5 separate regions of the Homo sapiens genome follow, and all the other regions are linked to region 2. Evidence: promoter capture Hi-C in human tissues and cell types (Jung and others, 2019). All regions are on one chromosome and are shown on one strand. Each heading gives the region's core, a stretch centred on a gene start or on the middle of the fragment in contact. The rest is flanking DNA. Distances are from core to core; before and after follow the strand shown. Region 1 overlaps HIRA (histone cell cycle regulator). Region 2 holds the start of SLC25A1 (solute carrier family 25 member 1). Region 3 overlaps DGCR5 (DiGeorge syndrome critical region gene 5). Region 4 overlaps HIRA (histone cell cycle regulator). Region 5 overlaps LOC105372859 (a long non-coding RNA gene).

Region 1 (4,588 bases), core at 8-2,507, 220 kb after region 2:
CCCATCCATTACCCTCCTGATCTGTGGCATGCCATGCTAGCACTCAGTTACCATTTTTCTTAAGCATGAATCTCTTTTTAAAGCTTAAACAAATGTAACTGACAAAGAAAAACTGACAAGACACATAAATCCTAGGCCACTGTGACACATCTGTTGCCACCAAGACTAAGGAGACAGCCCAACCCCTGCTCCAGAAACTGACAGGCAGTACTGCTTGCTGTTAACCAGTCAGAGGAGGCCCCAGACCTGGGAACTTTACAGCATTCCAGATGACGACAGTGTTATCCACGCTGCATGAGGCTAGCCAGGCATCGTGGGGAGACCATGCTACATCCATCACATCTGAAAGAAGACAGAGGGTTCTGGTGAGATCTCTTACCTGGTGATGCCCTTGTCTATTAGCTTGGCCAGTGCCCCTGGGACCTGGGACCATCATAACCACTCTGGTATTTTTTAACCAACCTGAAAAAACTCCCCCCAGAATTTTTCAATTGGTCATAAATTTAAAGCATCTAACCGACCCCAGTGCCTCACTCCTTTTACAGACGAAGCAACTGAGGGCGTGGTTCAGAGCTTGGGCACCATATGGCACCACACCCATGCATGAGAGCCTGCTACTTCGTGGGTCTGTGGCCTGGAGCATGCTCCTCAGCCCTGCTGACTTGCTTTGCCAATCATAACAGGGCCTTCCTCCGAGAGCCTTCTGAGCATGAGACACAGTGGGTAAAGCACATGGCAGAATGCCTGGCACAGTCAGAACTCCAGGGCTGCTGACAACTGAACACAAGTCATCTTGAGGCCCTCGTCTGGTTCATGGACTGGGTCTCATCTCCCAGACCCTGACAGGAGTACCCCTTCACTATGGAGCCTCCAAACAGAATTATTCACATTCACTTCTTTGTGACTCCATTTTATCATTTGTTAAGTGCAGATTAAAAAACAAAATCTAGGCCAGGTGCAGGGACTCACGTCTGTAATCTCAGCATTTTGGGAGGCTGAGGTGGGCAGATCGCTTGAGCCCAGAGGTACAATACCAGCCTAGGCAACATGGCAAAACCCTATCTCTACAAAAAATTGGCTGGGCTTGGTAGCACATGCCTGTATCCCCAGCTACACAGGAAGTTGAGGTGGGAGGATCACTTGAGCCCAGGGAGGTTAAGGCTGCAGTGACCATGATTGCACCACTGCACTCCAGGCTGGGCAACAGAGTAAGACCCTGTCTCAAAAAACAAACAAAAAAACCAATGAAACAAAAAACCCCAAAACCTATCCTCATAGGGTCACTGTAAGGATTAAATGTGATAAACTGCTGCAACACCATGCCAGGCACACACCAAGGCATCGATGAGGGTCCGCTGTGACGATGGTGCCAACCTTGCCTATCCTGCCATCAGGGGTGAAGGGCGCAGTCTTAGTTATTTCTCTAACCTCAGCGCCTGGTGCAGTGCTAGGTATACAGAAGAATGATTGGTGAGTTGAAGAAACAAACATAGCAGCAAGGTAATAGCTATCAAGTCCTTTCTTTGTACAAGAGGTTTAAGCAAAATATTCCAAATATCTATTGTATTTTTTCCAGTTAAAAAAAAACTATAGTAACAGCTTAACAGGTTTTTTTTTTTTTTTCAAATTGTCTCACATGCTGTGGTTCACATTTTGTATTCTAAATGCCTATGTGATCTTCACAGCTTCTTTCCTTTTTTGCCCTGCATTCTATGTGGTTGAGAGTATTCACTACTATTAATTGACCTAATTTAACACTGAAGATTAACTGGATTCTGGTTTTTTGGGCCCGTGTGTATTTGTCACTCTCCATACTCCAGATTATTACTCTGAGACGCATACCCTAGAGTGGGAATCCTGGGCAGAATATCTGAGCATCCTCATAGGTCTGGATTCTCATAAAACTGTAGACTGCTTTTCCAAGATCCCTGTGGTTTTACATTTCTACATGCAGACTGTTTGCTTCAAAACTCCCTTATTAGCATTGAGGATGATGACTTTTTCCCCTTCCGACTTATTTATTCAATACAATTTTATATTTAAAATTTTTAATTAGATTATTAGTGAAAGCGTTTGTCTCTTATCTAATGTGTTTTTGGACTGATTTGCTGACTTATTGTGACCATTTACTGGGAAGTGTTTCGGGCAGTGGGTCTAACAACATAAATGCAGTGCCTACAAAAATGAAGAAAACAACAACTTTCTCTAGTAACTGAGAGTCCTGGAGGGGCACACATGCAAACGCCAGGACAGCAGGGGAGTGCCCACATCCTAGAACAGAGAATATGTGGTTAGGTGGGAGCCCAGAAAGGAGAAGGGATTTTCTTAGCAATCTCCACAGACACATATAATGCAGCTATTAACTGCAAATTTCACCTCTCTACTTTTTTATACTGTAGTAGTTTTATGGAGTAAAGTCTGTTATTCTCCTTTGTGATTTCTTCTATTGCCTTGTTAACCTTGAAAAATATTCTCTCTGCTAGAGGTCTGGTAAATATTCAATTCTATTTTTTCCTTGTGTAGTTATTTAGAATGTTTCTCTCTTTAGTATCTGGTTTGGTGTGTGCTGTATTTGGTGAGGATTGAAATTAATTTCTCCTCACTAACTGCTTAACAGTTACTATGCTCCATGTGAGGAAGAATCCATTTTGATAAGCGATGCCTCCTTTCACAACACACCAACTTCTTAGGTATACTGTAGCCTCTTTCAGTGTTACGAGTTTACCCTCAAACCCATGATGTTTCTATCACTGGAACTTTGAATGTTTTCATCCGTAACATTCTTATCCTTCCAGATACGATCCTTTAGAATCACTGCTGAGTAAATCCACATACATGACATAATTTTCTCCTAAACTCCCAGTTTGGAGTTTCTGTCTTCAGACTATATAGCACCTCCTTTTTATGGTGCATCTACACACACAGGAGACCCTCCCCTCACTTGTAGATTTACATTTCTGGCCACTGTTCTCACCATCATTCTTGGTGACTCCAAGAGGATGATTCTTCTAACACTCCAGGCTCTTGGTTCCTTAAATTCCTCCTTCCCTTCTGATGACCGTGGCTTCCACTACTTTCACCCCACGGTCATGTCCAGAGGCCTTCCATGACAAATCACTGCAATCTGTCTCAATTCCAACCTTCCCACAGGCCAACCATCAGCCCCGTGCTCCTAGCTCACCCTCAGCTCCAACAGCACTTTCACGCCACCAGGAACTCCGATCTACTGATGCTGCCGTCCCCTCACCACTTGCCAACCACCTGGTCCTTACCTCTCTCCTCCAGCTGAGAGCCCACCACCACTCCCCCTTTTCTTCTCCTCCATCTTCCTACACGCCTGACAAAGCTCAGCTCCTCTCCTAGTGTTTTTTGAGTACTCTCCAATGACACCTTTGGCCCAATGACACCACATGAATATTGCACTTGCCTAGGCCCCCAGCACCCTCCATGCTGTCAAGCCCAGCAGTCTATCCTTGGTCTTCACTTTGCCCCTCAGCAATAAGCAATACGCTGCCTGTTCCCCTCTCCTTCAAATACTCTCTTCACTGTCCGTTTTGTTGTTGTTGCTGAGACAGGGTCTCGCTATGATGCCCAGGCTGTTGAGCTACTGGCCTCAAGTGATCCTCATGCCTCGCTTCTTTTCACTGTCTTAACTGGCCTCTCCTTCTAGCTTCTTTTTCTGGTTTCAGCTCTCCAATCCCTAGGCTCATCCTTGGACTCTGCTCATACCCAGAACCTCATATTTCCAAGATTCATATTTCCAAATGTCTACACAGTATGTCCATTTACACTGGCAAACTTAACATATCCAAAACCAAACTCTGAAAACACTTCCCTTAACAAACATTTCTGTCCCACCTGCAGACTTCCTGCTTCAGGTTACAGCCACTGCATCCTTTCCACTGTTTGGACCATAGTCCGGGAAGCCATCCTGACTCCTCTGCTTATCTCACATCCCATATTCAATGCACCAGGAAATCCGCCTCTGATCACTTCTCACCACTTCTGTGTTATGACTCCAAACCACCATTGTCTCTCCCTTGTTTTTCGGAGCGGCTCCTTTACTAGTCTTCCCAGTGCAGCCCTGAGACCCCCATGGTAGAATCCACACTGCTGCCACAGGTCTCAACTCCTCTGCCTAGATCCCTGCGGAGACTTCATATTCTTGCTCAGAGAAGAGCCTCTGCCACGGTCTCAAAGGCACACTGCCTCCCGCACCCTCCTCCCCCGCCCCAGCTCCCAGGGGTTCACTGGGCACAGTAAGCACATGTCCATGCTCCAAGGCCTTCGCACTGGCTGTCCCCTCACTGCCGTCCAGTCTTCCCTCAAATGTCATCTCCTCACTGGCCCCCAGCACTCATCTTCCAACTCCTTACAGGACTCTGCCTTCTAGGCTCATCTTCAAATCTCCTATACTACTCACTCGTCTGTCTCTTTTACAAGAACAAATCTCCTTGAGAGAAGAACAGTGCCTGGAACATGGCAGGCACTCAATAAATGTTTGGTATGTGGACAAGTAAATATTAATTTGGGAAAAAATGTATTTCATCTAGCCTTTCAATTTAGGAAGCCATTTTCTATCTCTCAA
Region 2 (4,832 bases), core at 1,724-4,223:
AGGGCAGGGTGGAAGGCACCGGACTGGGACCGGGCCAGGGCTACAGGGCCGAGGACCCAGGCCACACGGGCACCCCGGGAGGCGGGGCACAGGGTCACGTGACACAGAACATGAAACACAGGCACAGGGTCATAGGCCAGATGCACATCCAGCCATGGCTGGGCCAGACACTGGGACACAGTGGTGGTGTCACACACAGACCACAGGGGGGACACATGGATTTGACAGCCACAATGCACAGACCAGGCTACAGAGCTCGAGGGACGTGGGAAGGGGCCTTTTGGCACTACTGCACTGGAATCGTGAGACAAAGGTAGCAGGACACTCTGGCGGTGCCTGGGGCGGTCCCCTTGCGGCCTCTCTAGGCTTAGTCCGTCTTCCACACTTTGTTGAGCAGCTTCACCACTTCATCATAGATGACAAACACTATGGCCACATCCAGGCAGACCCGGCCCAGGCGGGGGACAGTGCCCTTGTAGAATCTGGGTGGGAGGAGGGGCGGGGAGAGGAAGGCAGGTCAGCACAGTGTCCCTGCACAGGGCAATCCCCAGATACTGAAGTGAGAGGCACAGAGGCCTGAAGGGGACAGAGTGGGCAGGCCAGGTAGGCCGGGAAAGGTTTGAGGTGGGGACAATAGCCCTGCCCCTCCCCCACTCACGCCTTGAGCCCCTCCTTCTTCAGGATCTGCAAGCCGCAGTCCCACGTGTTCCGGTATTTGTGCGCCTCCAGGCCCTATGGGGGACATCAGCAGGCAGGGGCTCAGCAGCTAGCTCTGGCCTGGTCCCCCCTTCCCCTCCCCTTCCCGGCCCCACCACCTGCATCCGGGTCTTAATCACATCCAGAGGAGTGTTTCCAAAGACACTGGCTGCGCCTGCAATAGCTCCGAAGACCCCAGTGATCAGAGGGTTCATGGGCTTGTTGGGGTTGTCCCCTGGATATAGGAGGGGTGAGGTGGGTCAGAGGGTGCCGGGAGGGGCCTGGATCAGCACTTCAAAAGGTGGGTGCCCGCCACCCAGGGGTGGCCCCAAGGAGAGGAGAGGAGCTGGCCATGTGCAGAGATGGGGCCCTGTGATGCAGACACACCTCGGTACCAGTTGCGCAGGGAGGTCATGACGAAGAAGCGGATGGCCTGGTTCGAGCCCTGCTTCAGGACAGTGGCTGTGAGGCCCTGGTACGTCCCCTTCAGCCCTGCGGGAAGGCAGGCACGGGGTTACCCTGCAGCCTCTCAGGCCCCGGTTGGGAATTGGTGTGTGTGGGGGGTGGGTGTTGCACAAAGCCCAAGGCAGGATGGGAGGTGCAGGCCCTTCCCACCCTGGCCCAGGTCCCTGAGCCCTATCAGGAAGGTCGAGTGGCTCACCTTGTTCCCGCACAATCTCCCTAACCCCGTGGAAGAATCCTCTGTACTTGGGGTTTGGGGAGGTCTGGTCGTGGATGAACTTCACCTGAGAGAGAGAAGCAAAGGCGCAGGTTCTCGGCTGCCACCTGGGTGGGTCCTGGCTAGCTGGCAGGCCCAGGGCCCATCCAGGGTGGAGGGAACTGGGAACTCTTCCCCAGGAAGCAGTGCAGCCAAGGCCGCCCTGGGCTGCCCACACGGACCATGCCCCGGGACACAGGGCAGCCCACACGGACCATGCTCTGGGACACAGGGCAGCCCTGTGAGCAGCCTCTCCCTTTATGTTTGCTGCTCTTTTCCAGTTTTGGCAGTGAAGGTGTCATTTTGTTTTCTGCTTTATAAAAGTATTTTTTAAAGACTTTAAGGCTGCCTTTAGCATAGACTCAGCCTCCACGGGTGGCCCTTCGTGGCAGGCGTCCTGCCCCAGGGCCCCGCGGTCACCCCGCCGGCCTTCCCTGGCGTCCAGGAGACCCTCCCCAGCTTGCCGGTTGCCCCGGGAGCACCGGGCCAGCGGGGCCGCCCGTCTCCGTACTCCCTGCGTGTCCGGGGTCCTCGCCAGGACCTTCCCCACCTTGATGGTCTCCATGGGGCACACGACCACCACGGCCTCGGCCACGCCAGCGCCCAGGCCGCACAGCAGCCCACGCGTGCTGTCCAGCCGTCCCTGGGCATCCCGCATGTGGTTGCTGAGGAACTCGAACATTCCAAACCTGGAGGCGGGAGGCGGGTGAGAGGGGCTGCCGCGGCCGAGCCCCCCTCCCGCAGCAGCCACCGGCCGGGCCTCACCTGACGGCCGCCTTGGGGATGGAACCGTAGAGCAGGGAGCTAAGGCCGCGGTACAGGCCCAGGACGCCATGGCTGCGAACCGTCTGCCGCACGCAGTCCCCTGGGGGAGGGGGCGGTCAGGACCCCACGGCCCTCGGTGCCGCCGCCCTGGGTACCCGCCCCCCGCGGCGCCGCGGCCTCCCCCTCCTCACCGATGCCCCGGTACCGCGGCGGGTGCGAGCGCTCGTCCAGCTGCAGCTGCGTCTTCACGTACTCGGTGGGGAAGGTGATGCAGATCTCGATGCCACCCGCCAGGCCGCCTGCAGGGACCGGGAACCCGCTCCTGAGACTCCCGCCCGGCCGCTGGCGCTCGGGCCCCTCCCCCGTCCCGGACTTCGGTCGGCGCGGCCGCCGCGCCAGTGCCGCGGGGAACATAGGCTGGGGCCCCACGCCCCCATGCCCTCACCCCGTTGTCCCGGCGAGGCGCAGGGGGTGACAGACGGGAGGCGGGCGAGTCCCAGCGCGCCGGGTGGGGACCAGGACCGCGCCTCCACGACTCCCCAGCCCACGGCCCAACCCGGAAGTGGGGCGGGGCCTCAGCGTCCCGGGCCCACCCAGAAGCGCGGCGGGAGAGGGGTCCGCGTCCCGGAGGGGCCCACCTGCCAGGATCGCCTTCCCCGGGTGCGTCAGCTTGGCCTTCCCGGACGCGGGCGCGGCGGCCGCCAGAGCGCGCGGGGCGCGGGGCGCGGGCATGGCGGGCGGGAGGCGGGGCGCCCTGTGGCGGCTTCGGGTCCGAGACTCCAGAACTCCGCGCTCGGTCCGCGGTGGCGGCGGCGGCCGGTTATGGTCCCAGGGGCGGGGCGGCCGCGTCAGCTCCAGGTCCCGCCCCGCGTGGTCCGAGCCAGGCCCCGCCCCCAGCCCGCCCCGTGCGGGCCGGGAAACTGAGGCCTGGGCGGGGCGCGCCGAGGCAGGCGTAGGGGCGGGGCCAAAGCGCAGCCAATGGCCGAGGCCGAGTCCCTGGGCGACCGCGAGCGGCGGGACGGGGGCGGGGCTGCGGGAGGCGGAGCCGTGGCCCAGCTCCGAGCAGTGGGTCAAGGTGCACTGTGTGCCGCGCCGCGGGATAGCGGGCCTCGGGTCTGCGCGACTGTCGAGAGCGGCGGGATCCCCAGGGATCCCGGAGGCCAGGGGCACACCCTCCCCGAAAACACGTGGGGCTAGCCCAGTCCCAGAGGAACTCTAACGTTTCAAACCTGGAGGCGGGAGGCGGGAGGCCGGTGAGAAGGGGCTACGCCGCCGGGCCCCCCTCCCGCAGCAGCCACGGGCCGGGCCTCACCTGCCGGTTCCCACCCACACCTTTCCCGGTTGTAGTTTCTGCGCTCAGCGAACAAGGTCAGGAAAGACCACAAATGCAAGCGGCTGTATTCTCCTAGGCAGCTTGTCTGGGCAACGGAGGTCCCACACCCCAAAGAGGACCCAGCAAATCTTTAATGGACTGCGGGGCCTAGGAAACTGGCCCGTCCCTCCTACCCATACCAGCACCAAGCAGAGCACCTTTGCCTGGATAAACCGACTTTAATATTTATGATTGCCAAGAGGCTGAGAGTCCTTTTATGAGGTCCGGTACCTCCAAACAAGACGTGTTCATGTAGTCTTCAAACTGGCCTGGAGGGGGCAGCTCCAGCCAGTCGGAGGCGCCCAGGAGGAAGGCCTGGCTCCAGCAGGAGGGCCCACAGTCCAGTCTCTGTTGTCGGCTAAAGCTGGTCTTGCGCCGTCAGCCTCTACCCTGGCCTCCCCAGGCTCTGGGATGGCTCAGAGGTTGCCGTCATTGGGTTTCAGCAAAAATAAATATTGTCCAGGTGTCCCTGCCTCCCATTGCGTCCCCTGTGCTGCTGGAGTGACATGCTCCTTGGAGAAGTTAGTAACTCTGCAGGTAGGGTGGGTGGTGACAACGCCCACTACACGCGGAAGTTGTACATTGGAGGCTGGCGAAGTTGGGAGCAGAGGCATATCCATAGGGGAAGCTGGCAGGGGCTGGGCCCACGGCAGGGCCTGCAGAGGGGGAAGCCCACAATGAGCAGAGCTCTTCCTGCCCATGGGGGTCCTCTCCTGGCTGCCCCTGAGTAGCCCGGGGCCCAGGGAGCAGGGTCTATAGGACCAGCCCTTACCACCCAGACGCTGAGGCCCCAAGAGAGCAGGCATCCAGAGGCAAGGAGCGTGGGGTCAGCCAGAGAACCTGGCCTGGCTAGAGGATAAGCTAGTCTCCAAATGGGACACTTACTTAGTGCAATCAGCTGGGTCTCATTCATGCCCATCAAAATCTAAAAAAACCAGAATGACATTAATGGTGGAAGGACACACTCAGCCGGACGCTGGAGACCCGCCGGCGTGCTGCACACTCACACCACACCCTCAGGCCTGTGTTTGCCCCACAGTGTCCAAGCACCCCACAGCCTCTCCAGTCTGCTCGACAGCCAGGCTGCCCTGGGCAGGTTCTCAGGTGCAAAGCCCCTCCCAGCACACACCAGCAGCAGCCTTGCTGTCCAGGGGCCAGGCCCAGCAGGACACAGCAGTAGTTCACAGCTAGGCAGGCACCCCTATCAGAAGGCAGGCATCCTTACAGCAGGGAGGACAGCGGCCGTGCCAACATTCCTGGGCGTACACTTCTCCACACCCA
Region 3 (5,233 bases), core at 2,466-4,965, 170 kb before region 2:
AGGTGCGTGCCACCACCCCCGGCTAATTTTTTTGTATTTTTAGTAGAGATGGGGTTCCACCGTGTTAGCCAGGATGGTCTCGATCTCCTGACCTCGTGATCCACCCGCCCCGGCCTCCCAAAGTGCTGGGATTACAGGTGTGAGCCACTGCGTCTGGCTGAAATGATCATATTTTTAATATGTTTGATTAAATAAGATACATTAATATATATTTTTAACTTTTTCAATGTGGCTACTATAATATTTAAAATCACATATTGTTAACAAAGTAATAAAAGAATGGAAAATAAGAGGCTAACAGAAGAGAAATGGAATATTAATACTTGATTAATCCAAAATAAGGCAGGAAAGGAGAGAAAAGGAACAAAGAACTAAGGGTACAGTAATAGATGTAAACCCAAATATGTAAAAATCACATTATAGGTAAATAGGCTGCATATTCCAGTTAAAAGACAAAGATTTTCAGATTAAAAACAATAGACCCAACCATAATTTTGTTCAAAAGACCCACTTTAAATAGAAAGACTGGAAGTAAAAGAGTTGGAAAAGATGTACTATGCGAGCACTAACCAAAGGACTGCTGGAAGAGCTATACTAATTTCAAAGCGTCATTTCTCAGAAAGAAATATTACTAGAGATAGAGATTGTCCGTAATGATAAAGGATTAAAACAATTACAATAGCCAAGGCACCCTTAGAAAACAATGTGGGAAGACTTCACGCTGCCCAGTAAGACTTTAGAGGCACGTAGAGCACATCATAAATTCATATGTATCTAGTAACGCAGCCCCAGAGAATATAAAGGGAAACTGATAGAACTAAAAGGCGAAATAGGCATATTTGGAAATTTTAACACATTCCTCTCATTAACGAATAGAAAAAGCAAATGAAATTTAGTAGAGCTACAGAACATGTAAGTAATGCTATTAACTACTTTGTCCTGACTGATCCATAAAACACTGCACCAGACAACAGCAAATTGCACATTCCCTTTGTGTGTGTGTGTGTGTGTGTGTGTGTGTGTGTGTGTGTGTGTGTGATGGAGTCCCTCTCTGTCACCCAGACTGGAGGGTAGTGGCGTGATCTCGACTCACCACAACCTCTGCCTCCCGGATTCAAGCGATTCTCCTGCCTCAGCCTCCCGAGTAGCTGGGATTACAGGCATGTGCCACCATGCTTGGCTAATTTTGTATTTTCAGTAGAGACGGGGTTTCTCCATGCTGGTCGGGCTGGTCTCAAACTCCCGACCTCAGGTGATCCACCCGCCTCGGCCTCCCAAAGTGCTGGGATTACAGGTGTGGGCCACCGCGCCTGGCCTGCACATTCCTTTTAATTGGCCACAGTATATTCATCAGAATTGGCCACATGCACTCTCAAAAAATTTCAATGAATTAAAATCCTTCAGAGTAAGTTCTCAAAGTGGAGGGAAAAATGTGATCTAATCAAAGTGATGAACAAAAGCATTTGATAAAATTCAACACCTGTTTATTAGTTTCCAAAAAAACCCCCACAGAACAAATTTCTAACAAACTGGGAATAAAGGGACTTTTAAAAAGATGATAAAGGGTATCTACACAAAATAATATTTATAGTGGACATTAAGCCTAATGGTGACTTATTGAAAGCTTTCTTCCAGAGATGAGGAAAGAGACAAGACCCTGCTCTCATCACTTCTATTCAGTGTTGTATGTAAAGCTCTACTGGGAGACTGAGGCAGGAGGATCTCTTGAGGCCAAGAGTTCAAGACTCACCTGGGCAACATAGTTAGATGCCCATCTCTACAAAAAATTAAAAAATAAAGTTCTAGTCAGGGCAGAAAGGCAGAAAGAGAGATAAGAAGTATAATACTTGGAAAGAAAGAAATAAAATTCTATTTGCAGACATGATTATGATGTAGGAAATACTAACAAAGATGCATGTAAAATATGAGAATTAATAGCAAGTGAAAAAAATTTCAGGATCTAATTTTTATTAGCATTTAAAAAATAAAGTACAGTGGCCAGGCACAGTGGCTCACGCCTGTAATCCCAGCACTTTGGGAGGCCGAGGCGGGCGGATCACAAGATCAGGAGTTTGAGACCAGCCTGGCCAACATAGTGAAACCCTGTCTCTACTAAAAATACAAAAATTAGCCAGGTGTGGTGGCATGTGCCTGTAGTCCCAGCTACTTGGGAGGCTGAGGCAGAAGAATTGCTTGAACCCAGGAGGCGGACGTTGCAGTGAGCTGAGACTGCACCGTTGTACTCCAAAATGGGCGACAGAGCAAGACTCTGTGTCAAAAATAAATAAATAAATAAATAAAAATTATAGCCAGGCTTTGCTGTGCCTGCAGCAGATTAGACACAGAATGCCTCATTTTAAAAGCTCATAATACCAAGTGTTGGCAAGGAAGCAGAGAAACAAGAACACTTGCACCCTGCTGATAGGGCTCTAAACTGTTCTCGCCAGTTTGGAAAACATTGGCACTATCTGCTGAAGTTGAATAGTCTCCTTAAGAGTCAAAAGCTGGAAACAACCCAAATAATCATCAAGACATGAATGGACAAATGAATTGTGATATATAAGGTATACAAAACAAGCAAAAAAAAAGAACAAACTGTTGCAACATGCAGCAGCGTGGATGAATCTCACACGCATAATATTGAGCAGAAGCAGCCAGATGCACGGGAGTCTGAACTATGATTCCATTTAAATGAAGCCAAAACAGTGGTGGGAATTAATCTATTATAATATGTCAGAAGAGTGGTTATCTTTAGGGGAATTGAGGGAGGCTTTCTGGGATTCTGATTACATTCTGTATCTTGATTTGGGGGAGGTGGCTACATGGTGTATTCACTTTGTGAAAATGCTTTTAGCTGTACTTATCATTTGGGTACTTCATGTATATTATACTTCAGCAAAAATTAATAAAAAATATTTTTGGTATTTTCAGGAATGTTGTTGCCCCAATTATCTGTGGTTCTGAGGTTTTTATGTCACATGTTTCTGATATTTTACTCTTCTTCATTTATTCCAGATGATTTATTAAGATCCATTAGATTCATTTTCTTTTCTATATAAAACAAATTATTTATAGTATAGTGTATTCGTTTTCTGTTACTATTGAAATTACTACAAATGTAGTGGCTAAAACAACACATAGTTTTCAGCTTAGAGTTGTGTTGGTTAGAAGTCCAGCATGGCTCTTACTGGACTAAAATCAAGGTGTCAGCAGAGCTGTGTTCTTTTCTCAAGGCTTTAGGGGAGAATCTGTTTCCTTGCCTTTTCCAGCTTATAGAGGCAGCCATGTTTTTTGGCTTGTGGCCCCTTCCTCCATCTTCAAAGCCAACAGCTGGTCAAGTTGTCACATTGCGTCACTCTGACCATAGGTTATCTGCTTTTAAGGTCTTGTGTGATTTGATTGGGTCCACCTGGACCATTCAGGATCATCTTCCTGTCCTTAAAATTCTTAATCACATCTGCAAACTCTCTTGCCATGTAAGTGAACATGTTCAGAGGTTCCAGAGAGTAAGACATCAATAGCTTATGGGGCTACCACAGATACCTTATACAATTATCTCCTGAAAGTTGAGTTTCTAGGATTTAGTTGTGTTATTTTTTTTTATAACTTGCATACCATACAACTCACCAAGTTGGACAGTTCAGTGGTTTTTAATGTATGCACAGAGTTGTGTAACCATCATCACAATAAATTTTAGGATATTCTCACCACCTCACAGCCCTAGGCAGCCACCATGGGTTTGCCTGTCCCAGACATTTCATGTAACAGGAATCATTTGTGGTCTTTTGTCACTGGCATCTTTCAGGTATCATTTTTTTTAGGTTCTTCCATGAGGCATGTGTTAGTACTTCACACCTTTCTATGGCTGAATGATTTTTTTTTTTTGAGACAGAGTTTCTCTCTTGTCACCCAGGCTGGAGTGCAATGGCGCGATCTCAGCTCACTGTAACCTCCGCCTCCCGGGTTCAAGCGATTCTCAGGCCTCAGCCTCCCAAGTAGCTGGGATTACAGACATGCACCACCACACCCAGTTAATTTTTGTATTTTTTTTTTTAGTAGAGACAGGGTTTCACCATATTGGCCAGGCTGGTCTCGATCTCCTGTCCTTGCGATCCGCCCGCCTCCACCTCCCAAAGTGCTGGGATTACAGGTGTGCACCCTGATAAGTGACAAGTGCTGATTAATTTGCATTTCTCTCATTATGAGTTAGGTTGATCATCATTTTCTGTATTTGTGTGTGTGTGTGTGTAAATTGATTGTGTGATTCATTCATTTTGCTCATTCTTCTGTCTTTTTTTGGTCTTTTTCCCTTCAATTTTAAACCATTTTGGATGTATTAGGGACCTTAAGCATTTACTTGTGAGATATTGCAAATATACTTTCCCAGTTTTTTATGTTTTTAAATTCTATTTATGATGGTTTTCTCGTCATGCAATAACATTTTCACTTTTTTTAATTAAAAGGATTTTTTATTTTTAAGATTTTAATTTTTATGTAGTCACATCGATCAAGTCTTTGTTTTACAATTTCAGATTTAAAATCGTAGTTAGAAAACCCTGGACTTTATATTTGATATGGTGTGAAATAGGTCTCAGCATTTATCTTTGCCCCCTTTGTGTATACACTTGACCTAGCACTATTTGCTGGAAGACTCTTGTTTTCTGCATTGCTGCTTTGGTTATAAAACATGTGTCTATAAATATGCAGCTTCTTCAGAGACTGTTTTACTAGTTTATTCTTGTGCCAGTGCTGTATTGTCTTAATTATTATAAGTGCAAAGTTTGTGATTTGGTGCCCTTGTGTATATTTAACTTTGTCATTACCCAAAGGCAAATTGTAACCAGAGAAGTGTGATGAGTAATCCACGTTGACATGACAATGGAGGGTGGTTTTCAATGTAATTATTATCAAATGAAAGAATATTTAACTTACGGAGGAAGAAAGATTAGTTCAAAGACAATTTTACTTTTATTAGCAGGATATAAAAGAAGATTGAAAATATAAGAATATGTTGAGTTTATTTACTGGCTAATAGAGGAGGGACAAATTGGCAGGAAAGTGGTATGACTTTCATTGTGTGACTTTTTGGCATCATAGTTGATGGCCAGTTTTTGTGAACAGAAACAAGTCTTAAAGAATATGAACAGGCCAGGCGTGGTAGCTCACACCTGTAATCCCAGCAGTTTGGGAGGCCGAAGCAGGCGGATCGCTTGAGGCCAGGAGTTTGAGACCA
Region 4 (4,895 bases), core at 1,235-3,734, 200 kb after region 2:
AAGTAAGAACAAAAGTCAGCCTTGAAAGTCAGGTGCCACATCCAGTACTTTATACATTCAAATAACTTTTTTCTAGGTCCAAAGGCAGTATGTTTTCATGATAGAAAATCTGCAAAGTTACAGAAAAGTAAAAAGAAAATTAAAGCCACTTAATATACTATATTTAATTGAATCTAGGATTTACAGGTTCTATATGTACTACTAAGAAAGAAAACAATGCTACTAATTGTCAGATGCCATTGACTGTACAACACACCCAAATCTCAGAGGTGTTAAACTGTGCAAACACATGTCTTAGGAGGAATGAAATGCAGCAATACAGAAAGGGCCTCCCTTTCATGAAGGGCCATGGGGCATGCCACTAGATGGGTGTGCCATAATATACCTAACCCAGCCTCTACTGAGGGACCACAAGACTGTCTCCAGCTTTTTCTAGAACAGATGCTGCTGCACCAGGAAGCAAGGTATTGCAGTGTCAGAACTGAGGATTCTGGGACAGCCAGGTCTGACTCCTCTGCCATTTGTTAGCTTGTGACTTGCTCTAACTACTCTTGTGCCTCCAGTCATGTCTGCAAAATACAAAGTGCCAGGACTCTCCCCATGGGGTTGCTGTCAGGACTAAAGCAGTTGGTGTAGGACACTCTTAGAACACACATTGGCTGCTCAAAGAATTATGAAATTCTAATAATTGTCATTACACCTAAGATTCACATAATATATGGGATAAATTCTTAGAAGTGGAATTGTAGCAGCAAATGAAATGTTCACTGATGATTTGGAATAAATATTTCTAAAGTGCCCTCCTCAGAGGTTTAAATTACAAGCCATGTATGAGAGCGCCTATTTCTCCACATAGGTGCTTAGTAACACTTTTATCAAATTTCTTGACACTTAACAATCTGACAGAAGAAAAATGGTATCTTATTTTGATATGAGTGACGTTGACATTTTTTCTTTTTCTTTTTTTTTTTTGAGACAGAGTCTCTCCCGCCGCCCAGGCTGGAGTGCAGTGGCGCGATCTCGCCTCACTGCAAGCTCCGCCTCCCGGGTTCACGCCATTCTCCTGCCTCAGCCTCCCGAGTATCCCGCCACCATGCCCGGCTAATTTTTTGTATTTTTAGTAGAGACGGGGTTTAACCGTGTTAGCCAGGATGGTCTCGATCTCCTGACCTCGTGATCCGCCCGCCTTGGCTTCCCAAAGTGCTGGGATTACAGGTGTGAGCCACCGTGCCCGGCCGGCAGTTTTTCAAAGTAGAAATACTTGATTTCCGGCCAGGCGCAGTGGCTCATGCCTGTAATCCCAGCACTTTGGCAGGCCGAGGCGGGTGGATCACGAGGTCAAGAGTTCGAGACCAGCCTGGCCAACATGGTGAAACCCCGTCTCCACTAAAAATACAAAAATTAGCCGGGCATGGTGGTAGGCGCCTGTAATCCCAGCTACTTGGGAGGCTGAGGCAGGAGAATCTCTTGAACCAGGGAGGCAGAGGCTGCAGTGAGTTGAGATCACACCACTGTACTCCAGCCTGGGCAACAGAGTGAGACTTCGCCTCAATTAAAAAAAAAAAAAAAGAAATACTTGATTTCTTTTTTTTTTTTTTTGTGAACTGCTTGTTCATATGCTTTGTCTACTGTTTTGTTATTGGTCTTTATTACTGATTTGTAAAAATCATTTACATATTAAAAAAATTCCTTATATGGTAGGAAATATTTTACCTGGGATGTTGTGTTTCAACTATTTATGGCCTTTTTTTTTGAGACGAAGTCTCGCTGTGTCGCCAGGCTGGAGTGCAGTGGCGCAATCTCGGCTCACTGCAACCTCTGCCTCCTGGGTTCAAGTGACTTTCCTGCCTCAGCCTTCCAAGTAGCTGGGACTACAGGGGCGTGCCACCACGCCCAGCTAATTTTTATATTTTTTAGTAGAGACGGGGTTTCACCATGTTGGCCAGGATGGTCTTGATCTCTTGACCTTGTATCCATCTGCCTCAGCCTCCGAAAGTGCTGGGATTACAGGTGTGAGCCACCACGCCCAGACAGCCTATCTTTTAAATGCACTAAAATTTTAAAATTTTTGTGTACTCTAAATTGTCATTTACAGAAAACACTTTTTTGACCTCTGAGATTATAAAAAATATTCTTCCAGGGAATCTTCTAAAATTTTAAACAAAAATATTTTAAATAACAATTTAAAAAGAAACAAACTATAAGCTGTTTAGAATGTATGTAATGATAAGTTATGAGGCTGGGACCCAACATTGTTTCTAGGAGGTGCCATGTAGTCCTGTCTTCCATTTACCGAATTAGCCAATGTTTTATCACTGATGTGAAATGCTACCTTTAAAATTCCCATAAATATTCGGGCCTGTTTCCTCATATTCTATCATATTCCACTGCACTATCTACTCATGTGTCAGTATCTCACTGTTTTGAGTTATGACAGCTTTTAAGTCTTAATTTCTGGTGGGGCTAGTCTTCCCTGGCTAATCTTCTTTTTCAGAAATATTTCGGCCATTCCTATTTATTTTTCCAGATAACTTTATTTTATTTATTTATTTATTTGATACAAAGTCTCACTCTGTCACCCAGGCTGGAGAGTGGCACTATCTTGGCTCACTGCAACCTCCCAGGTTCAAGCAATTCTCCTGCCTCAGCCTCCAAGTATCTGGGATACAGGTAGTAGCTACAGTAGCTACAGGTGGGCACCACCACTCCCAGCTAATTTTTATATTTTTAGTAGGGACGGGGTTTCACCATGTTGGCCAGGCTGGTCTCAAACTCGTGACCTCAGGTGATCTGCCTGCCTCGGCCTCCCAAAGTGCTGAGATTACAGTTGTCAGCCACTGTGCCCAGTCGATTTTTCCACATAACTTTATAGTTACCTTGTCTGATTCCCAAAATTCCTACGGTTATTTGTACTGGTTAAATTTATAGGCTACAAGAGAGCTGACATCTTTATGATGCCATCCTAGCTAATCAATGGTATGAATTTCTAGTTATTTCTTTGAGTTTTCTTTGAAGCCTCTCAGTAGGGTTTTTAATTTTTTCTTCATTAAGATATGCATCTCTGGTTGCATCCTAGTTATTTTATTTGTGAATATGACTTATTTCTTTATGTGCTCTGAGGGTAGTTGGTGCTACCTGACTTCATGTTGATTGTATCCTGCCATGTGACTATCTTCTTTCATTGCCTATGGCAGCTTTTCCAGTTGATTCTCTTATAAACCATATCATCCTTAAATAATTATCCTTTCCAATTTGTTCTTTCCTTTGACTAACTACATGGGCTAGGACCTATAGAACAATGTTAAATTATAGTTGCAAGAGTAGGCATTTGTTTAGTTTTTGAACTTAATTTGAAATAAGATAATTTATCAAGTTAAGGAAGCATCCACCTATTCCCATTTAACTGAGTTTTAAAACAACGTTGAATTTTACCAAAACGCCTATTAAGCATCGATGAGAGATCATATAATTTTTTTTCTTTTGATCTACTGATACGTAGAATTAAATAGTTACCTAAAATTTGAACCTCCTTACTTTCCCAAAACAAACCTCACTTGGTCATGGTATATTAGCCTTTTAACAAGCAGTAAGGTTCTGTTTGTTACTATTTTACTTAGGATTTTGCACTGACATTCAGAAATGAGAATGATCTTGAATTTATTATGTTTTATCCTTGTAAGATTTTGATATATTATGTTCATTTCAAAATAAAAATTTGCACATTTCTTCTCCATGCACTAGAATATTTAAAATGGTATTAACAGTTACCTGAGTTACCTGTTCCTTAAAAGTTCCTGAAGTTTCCCTGTGAAGCCATCTTAGTCCGGTGGCTTTGGTGGGGTTAACTCTGTCCTCTATTTCTTCCACAATAATTTTTCACTTTTAGTAATTTTATTTTCTTCAAAAACCATCCACTTTCTGTGCAAATTTATTTGCACAGAGTTCAGCAAAGAAGTCTCTCATCTTTTTGATTTGTCTATTATTTCTCACTTATACCTACTTTGTATATTTATGCTTTTTCTCTTCTTTCTTGATTAGCTAAGCTAATAAGGACCTATCCTGTTGCTACGTGTTAGAACGTGGGAATCAGGAGGGCAAAAAGCTTTTAATACCAAAAGGATCAGGTCCTGATGCTAGAAATATGCATCCTATGTCAGAAAGTTGGCCCCAGACCAGTTAGGAAGCCACCTACACCTTCTCACCAGGTAACGCCTGGAAGGATCCACAGAACAAAGTGTCACCATCACCACCACCACCTCCCCATCCCACAGGCCCAGTATGTTCAGAGCTCAACCACACACTGGGTCTCACTTGGTCTCAATAAAAGGTAGGTAGGGGCATTACCCCCTACAGGGTCACAATAGGAAAAAGACTTAGTCAAAAGAAAATGAGTGCTCTGTGGGGAGCCAGCAGACCTGGTTCTTGCTCTACTCGTGGGGACCTCAGAGCCTGCACATCTAACATGAGGAGACTGGATCTGTACACTGTACGAGTGAAGGTTTCTTTAGACACCAAGGAAGATTTGGAATAGCTCGTGGATGGACAACTGCAAAACGCAGAGGCCTAAAGTGTGTGGCCTCCATGAAGGGCTTACAAATGCCCTGAGCAGATAGACGGAATGAGAATAAAACCCAGAGTGAACTGCCTTGACAGTGGGGGTCTATTTCTTTCACACAGTGCTTTATCATTTTTCTTTCTTTTTTTTTTTTTTTTTGAATCAACACACATCATTTTGGGAAGAATAACCAATTCAAAAACAATCTTCACTATATACACTGGGACAACAGCAAGTGGTGAATGAGTCTCTTCCCCCTTCTCTGTCCCCCACAGGGAAATATGTTTGGGAGCCCTACTCTCTGCCCAGTAATTCCACTTCTAGAAGTTATCCTGAGAGA
Region 5 (4,710 bases), core at 174-2,673, 140 kb after region 2:
TTTCTGCCTCCTAAGTAGCTGGACTACAGGCATATGCCACCATGCCCAGCTAATTCTCATTGTGTTCTGAATTTGTAATTCCCTAATGACATATGATGTAGAGCGTCTTTTCATATGGTTATAGCCATATGTATATCTTCTTTGGTGAGCTCCGTTCAGATATTTTGTCCATTTTTAAACTGGAATGCTTATTTTCTTATTTTTGCATTTTGGGAGTTATTCGTATATATTGGATACAAATCCTTTATCAGAAAAGTTATTTGCAAATATTTTCTCCAAGTCTGTGGGTTTTCATTCTCTTAGCAATGATGTTCTCAGAGCAGCAGTTAAAAATTTCTGTCTAGATTCTTTTTTTTATGTTTGCATGTGTAAAATGCAAAACTTCCTGAGTAGAAGGGACTACAGGTGCATTTATTAGAGCAGTATTTATTGAAAAGACTAATATTTTTCTATTGAATTGCCTTTGTTCCTTCATCAAAGATCAGTTGATTTCATTTGTTTGGGTTTATTTATGGGTTCTCTACTCCGTTCCTTTACCAATGTCACACTGTCTTGATTACTGTAGCTTCATAGTAAGTCTCAAAGTTGAGTAGTGTGAGTACTCTGGCCCTGCTTGTCTTCAATATTGAGTGGGCTATTCTGCATCTTTTGACTTTCCATACAAACTTTAGAATTTGCTTGTCAATATCTGCAAAATAACTTGCTGGAATCGTTATTGGAATTAAATTGAATCTATAATTGGTAAGCGCTAACACATTAATGTTGAGTCTTCCTACCCATGAACATGGAACTTATCTCCATTTATTAATTTAGATTTTTTATTTATTTCATCAGAGTTTTGTAGTTTCCCTCATATAAAGCTTGTATGTATTTTGTTAGATTTATACCTAAGTATTTTGATTATTTGGTGTTTATGTAAGAGGTATTAAATTTTCAATTTCAAATTCCAATTGTTCAGTGTTGGTTAAAGAAAAGCAATCAACTTTTGTATGTTAACCTTATATCCTGCAATGTAACTATAATAACTTACTAGTTCTCAGAGTTTTTTGTTGATTCTTTGGGATTTTGTACATAGATAGTCATGTTATCTGCAATTTTTTATACTTTATTTCCTTCTTCCTAATTTTTATACTTTTATTTCCTTCTTTTGTCTTATTGTATTAGCTAAGACTTCTAGTACAATATTGAATAGGAGTGGTGACAAGAGACATCCTTGCCTTTTCCCTGATATTAGGGGAAAAGCATATAATTTTTCACCATTAAGTAGTGTATGATGTTAGCCATACATACATACATAGTGGAATTATTGTAGATGTTCTTCATCAATTGAGAAAGTTCCCTTCTATTCCTAGTTTGCTGAGAGTTTTTATCATGAATAGGTGTTAGATTTGTCAAATGCTTCTTCTAAATGTATTGATATAATCATGATTTTCTTTTTTAACTTAATTGATGTGATTGATTACAATAACTTATATTCAACCATTAAACAAGTATGCATATCTGGAATACATCCCATTTGGTCATGTTGTATTTTTTTCATACAATGTTGGATTTGATTTGCTAATATTTTTATCATGGATAAAAGGGGCATTACTATCGGGTAAAATTCAGCCCCCGATATTTCACCTGGGTCCTTTTCTATTTTCCCTAAGTGTTGGCTGGTCTGAGAAATAAAGGGAAAGAGTACAAAAGAGAAATTTTAAAGCTGGGTGTCTGGGGGAGACATCACATGTCGGCAGGTTCTGTGATGCCCCCCAAGCCGCAAAACCAGCAAGTTTTTATTAGTGATTTTCAAAGGGGAGGGAGTGTATGAATAGGGTGTGGGTCACAGAGATCACGTGCTTCACAAGGTAATAAAATATCACAAGGCAAATGGAGGCAGGGTGAGATCACAGGACCAATGCGAAATTAAAATTGCTAATGAAGTTTTGGGCATGCATTGTCATTGATAACATTTATCAGGAGACAGGGTTTGAGAAAAGACAACTGGTCTGACCAAAATTTATTAGGCGGGAATTTCCTCATCCTAATAAGCCTGGGAGCGCTACGGGAGACCGGGGCTTATTTCATCCCTTATCTATGCCCATAAAAGACAGACGTCCCCAAAGCGGCCATTTCAGAGGCCTCCCCTTAGGGATACATTCTCTTTCTCAGGGATGCTCCTTGCTGGGAAAAAGAATTCAGTGATATTTCTCCTATTTGCTTTTGAAAGAAGAGAAATATGGCTCAGTTCCACCCGGCCCACAGGCAGCCAGACTTTAAGCTTATCTCCCTTGTTCCCTGAACATTGCTGTTATCCTGTTCTTTTTTCAAGGTGCCCAGATTTCACATTGTTTAAACAATTTGTGCAGAAAACGCAATCATCACAGGGTCCTGAGGCGACATTCATCCTCAGCTTACAAAGATGATGGGATTAAGAGATTAAAGTAAAGACAGGCATAGGAAATCACAAGGGTATTGACTGGGGAAGTGATAAGTGTCCATGAAATCTTCATAATTTATGTTCAGAGACTGCAGTAAAGACAGGTGTAAGAAATTACAAAAGTATTAATTTGGGGAACCAATAAATGTCCATGAAATCTTCACAATTTATGTTCTTCTGCCATGGCTTTAGCCGGTCCCTCCGTTCAGGGTCCCTGACTTCCCGCAACACATTACATCACAGTGGAAAGTGAGATAGTAAAGGAATATTATGAAGTACTCTATGCTCAAAGGGGGCATGATCCCTATGACAAAGGGATCCATTCTTCGAGAAGACATAACAGGCTGGGCATGGTGGCTCATACCTGTAATCCCAACATTTGGGGAGGCCAAGGCAGGAGGATCATTTCAGCTCAGGGGTTCGAGACCAGCCTAGGCAGTGTAGTGAGATCCCATCTACAAAAAAAAATTTAAATTGGCCTGGCATGGTTGTGCCTGCCTGTAGTCCCAGTACTTACGAGGCTGAGCTGGGAGGATCACTTGAGCTTGGAGGGTAAGGCTGCAGTGAGCTGTGGTCACACCACTGCACTCCAGCCTGGGTGACAGAGTAAGACTGTCTCAAAAAAAGGGGAAAAGACATGAAAATTACTATATTTCACTGAAGATTTATGAATTGCAAATAAGCACATGAAAAGATGTTGAACATCATTAGGTATTACGGAAATGCAAACTAAAGTTACACCTGTCAACATGGCTAAAATTAATAGTGACAACAAATGCTGGTGAGCATGTGGAAAAACTTGATCACTCATCCATTGTTGGAATGTAAAATGGTACAGCTTTGTGGAAAATACTTTGTCATCTTGAAAAAAACTGCACTTGCAGCTACCATAAGACCCAGTAGTTGCCCTCTTGGGAATTGCTTCCACAAAATCAAATGCTTATGTTCACACAAAAAATTTAATATCAGGGCTTAACTGTAATCACCAAAAATTGAAACTAGCCCTGATGTCCTGAGCAGATGAATGGTTAAATCAACAGTGCAGCAAAACCATGAAATACTCATTAGCAATAAATAAAAACTAATGAAGTAATAATATACACAACAACTTAAATTAACTCCAGATAATTATTCTGAGTGAAAAAAAAATCCAGTAGGTTAGGTAAGCATGACATTGACATAACATTGTTGAAATCAGGAAATTACAGAAATGGAAAACAGATTGGTGGTTAGCATGGGTTAAGAAAGTGGAATGGTGAAAGGGAAGTGGTGTGGCCATACGTGAGCAACACAACCCCACTTAGGTAGAATACACATCTTCTCAAGTAGACAAGGAACATTCTCCAGGGTACAGCATATGCTAGGTTGTAAATCAAACCTTAGTAAATGTAAAGGATAGAAATAATACAAAGTATTTTTAAAAACACAACGGAATACTATTAGATCAATAACAGAAAGAAAGTCGAGAAGTTGGGAAACCCACAAAGGTGTGGAAATTTAACAGCACACTCTAAATGACCAATGGGTCAAAGAAGAAATCAAGAGGGAAATTAGAAAATACTTTGTGGGCCGGGTGCAGTGGCTCACGTCTGTAATCCCAGCACTTTGGGAGGCCGAGGCGGGTGGATCACGAGGTCAGGAGATCGAGACCATCCTGGCTAACACGGTGAAACTCCATCTCTACTAAAAATACAAAAAATTAGCCGGGCATGGTGGCGGGCACCTGTAGTACCAGCTACTCAGGAGGCTGAGGCAGGAGAATGGCGTGAACCCAGGAGGCAGAGCTTGCAGTGAGCCAAGATTGCACCACTGCACTCCAGCCTGGGTGACAGAGTGAGACTCCATCTCAAAAGAAATTTTATAAAAAAACTTTTTAATTAAAAATTAAAGAAATACTATTATATATAGAGAATGAGGGTTTAAAAAAAAAAGAAGAAATACTATAAACAATTGTAGCTTAGATGAAATGAACAAGGCCGGGTGTGGTGGCTCACGCCTATAATCCTAGCACTTTGGGAGGCCGAGGCAGATGGATTACCTGAGGTCAGGAGTTCGAGACCAGCCTGGCCAACATGATGAAACTCCGTGTCTACTAAAAAAAAAAAACAAAAAATTAGCCAGTCGTGGTGGCAGGCGCCTGTAATCCTAGCTACTTGAGAGGCTGAGGCAGGAGAATCACTTGAACCTGGGAGGCAGAGGTTGTAGTGAGCCAAGATCACACCACTGTACTCCAGCCTAGGCAAGAAGAATGAAACTCTGTTTAAAAAGAAAGAAAGAAAGAAAGACAG

What was found. Contacts are between HindIII fragments. The study calls those that stand out against the background at their distance.
Region 1: a contact is called between a fragment that was not itself captured here and the fragment with the promoter of SLC25A1 in region 2, in 5 of the 25 tissues and cell types used here (dorsolateral prefrontal cortex, lymphoblastoid cells, mesenchymal stem cells and 2 more).
Region 3: a contact is called between a fragment that was not itself captured here and the fragment with the promoter of SLC25A1 in region 2, in 2 of the 25 tissues and cell types used here (lymphoblastoid cells and mesenchymal stem cells).
Region 4: a fragment that was not itself captured here is called in contact with the fragment with the promoter of SLC25A1 in region 2 in 2 of the 25 tissues and cell types used here (mesendoderm cells and spleen).
Region 5: a contact is called between a fragment that was not itself captured here and the fragment with the promoter of SLC25A1 in region 2, in 7 of the 25 tissues and cell types used here (H1 embryonic stem cells, IMR-90 fibroblasts, dorsolateral prefrontal cortex and 4 more).

What each region holds. Positions count from the first base shown.
Region 1 is chr22:19,397,746-19,402,333 of GRCh38, forward strand. HIRA (histone cell cycle regulator) reads right to left here. Exons shown (of 25, transcript NM_003325.4): 6 at 247-342. Among named protein-coding and RNA genes, the nearest start is that of HIRA, 32 kb to the right of the region's middle. The HindIII fragment of the contact is 4,821 bases long and covers 1-3,668 here.
Region 2 is chr22:19,175,763-19,180,594 of GRCh38, forward strand. SLC25A1 (solute carrier family 25 member 1) reads right to left here and starts at 2,974. Exons shown (of 9, transcript NM_005984.5): 1 at 2,818-2,974; 2 at 2,371-2,478; 3 at 2,180-2,279; 4 at 1,965-2,103; 5 at 1,358-1,442; 6 at 1,084-1,188; 7 at 816-931; 8 at 659-732; 9 at 1-482. The coding sequence starts at 2,911. The coding sequence ends at 368. CLTCL1 (clathrin heavy chain like 1) reads right to left here. Exons shown (of 33, transcript NM_007098.4): 32 at 4,437-4,476; 33 at 3,711-4,207. The coding sequence ends at 4,457. RefSeq lists enhancers at 1-21, 2,272-3,019 and silencers at 2,191-3,270, 3,471-3,570. The HindIII fragment of the contact is 9,906 bases long and covers 1-4,832 here.
Region 3 is chr22:19,006,470-19,011,702 of GRCh38, forward strand. All of the region lies in intron 4 of DGCR5 (DiGeorge syndrome critical region gene 5), which reads left to right. Among named protein-coding and RNA genes, the nearest start is that of FAM246C, 20 kb to the right of the region's middle. The HindIII fragment of the contact is 8,579 bases long and covers 1-5,233 here.
Region 4 is chr22:19,378,075-19,382,969 of GRCh38, forward strand. All of the region lies in intron 13 of HIRA (histone cell cycle regulator), which reads right to left. Among named protein-coding and RNA genes, the nearest start is that of HIRA, 51 kb to the right of the region's middle. The HindIII fragment of the contact is 6,067 bases long and covers 1-4,895 here.
Region 5 is chr22:19,318,279-19,322,988 of GRCh38, forward strand. All of the region lies in intron 1 of LOC105372859 (a long non-coding RNA gene), which reads left to right. Among named protein-coding and RNA genes, the nearest start is that of CLTCL1, 29 kb to the left of the region's middle. The HindIII fragment of the contact is 4,176 bases long and covers 1-3,511 here.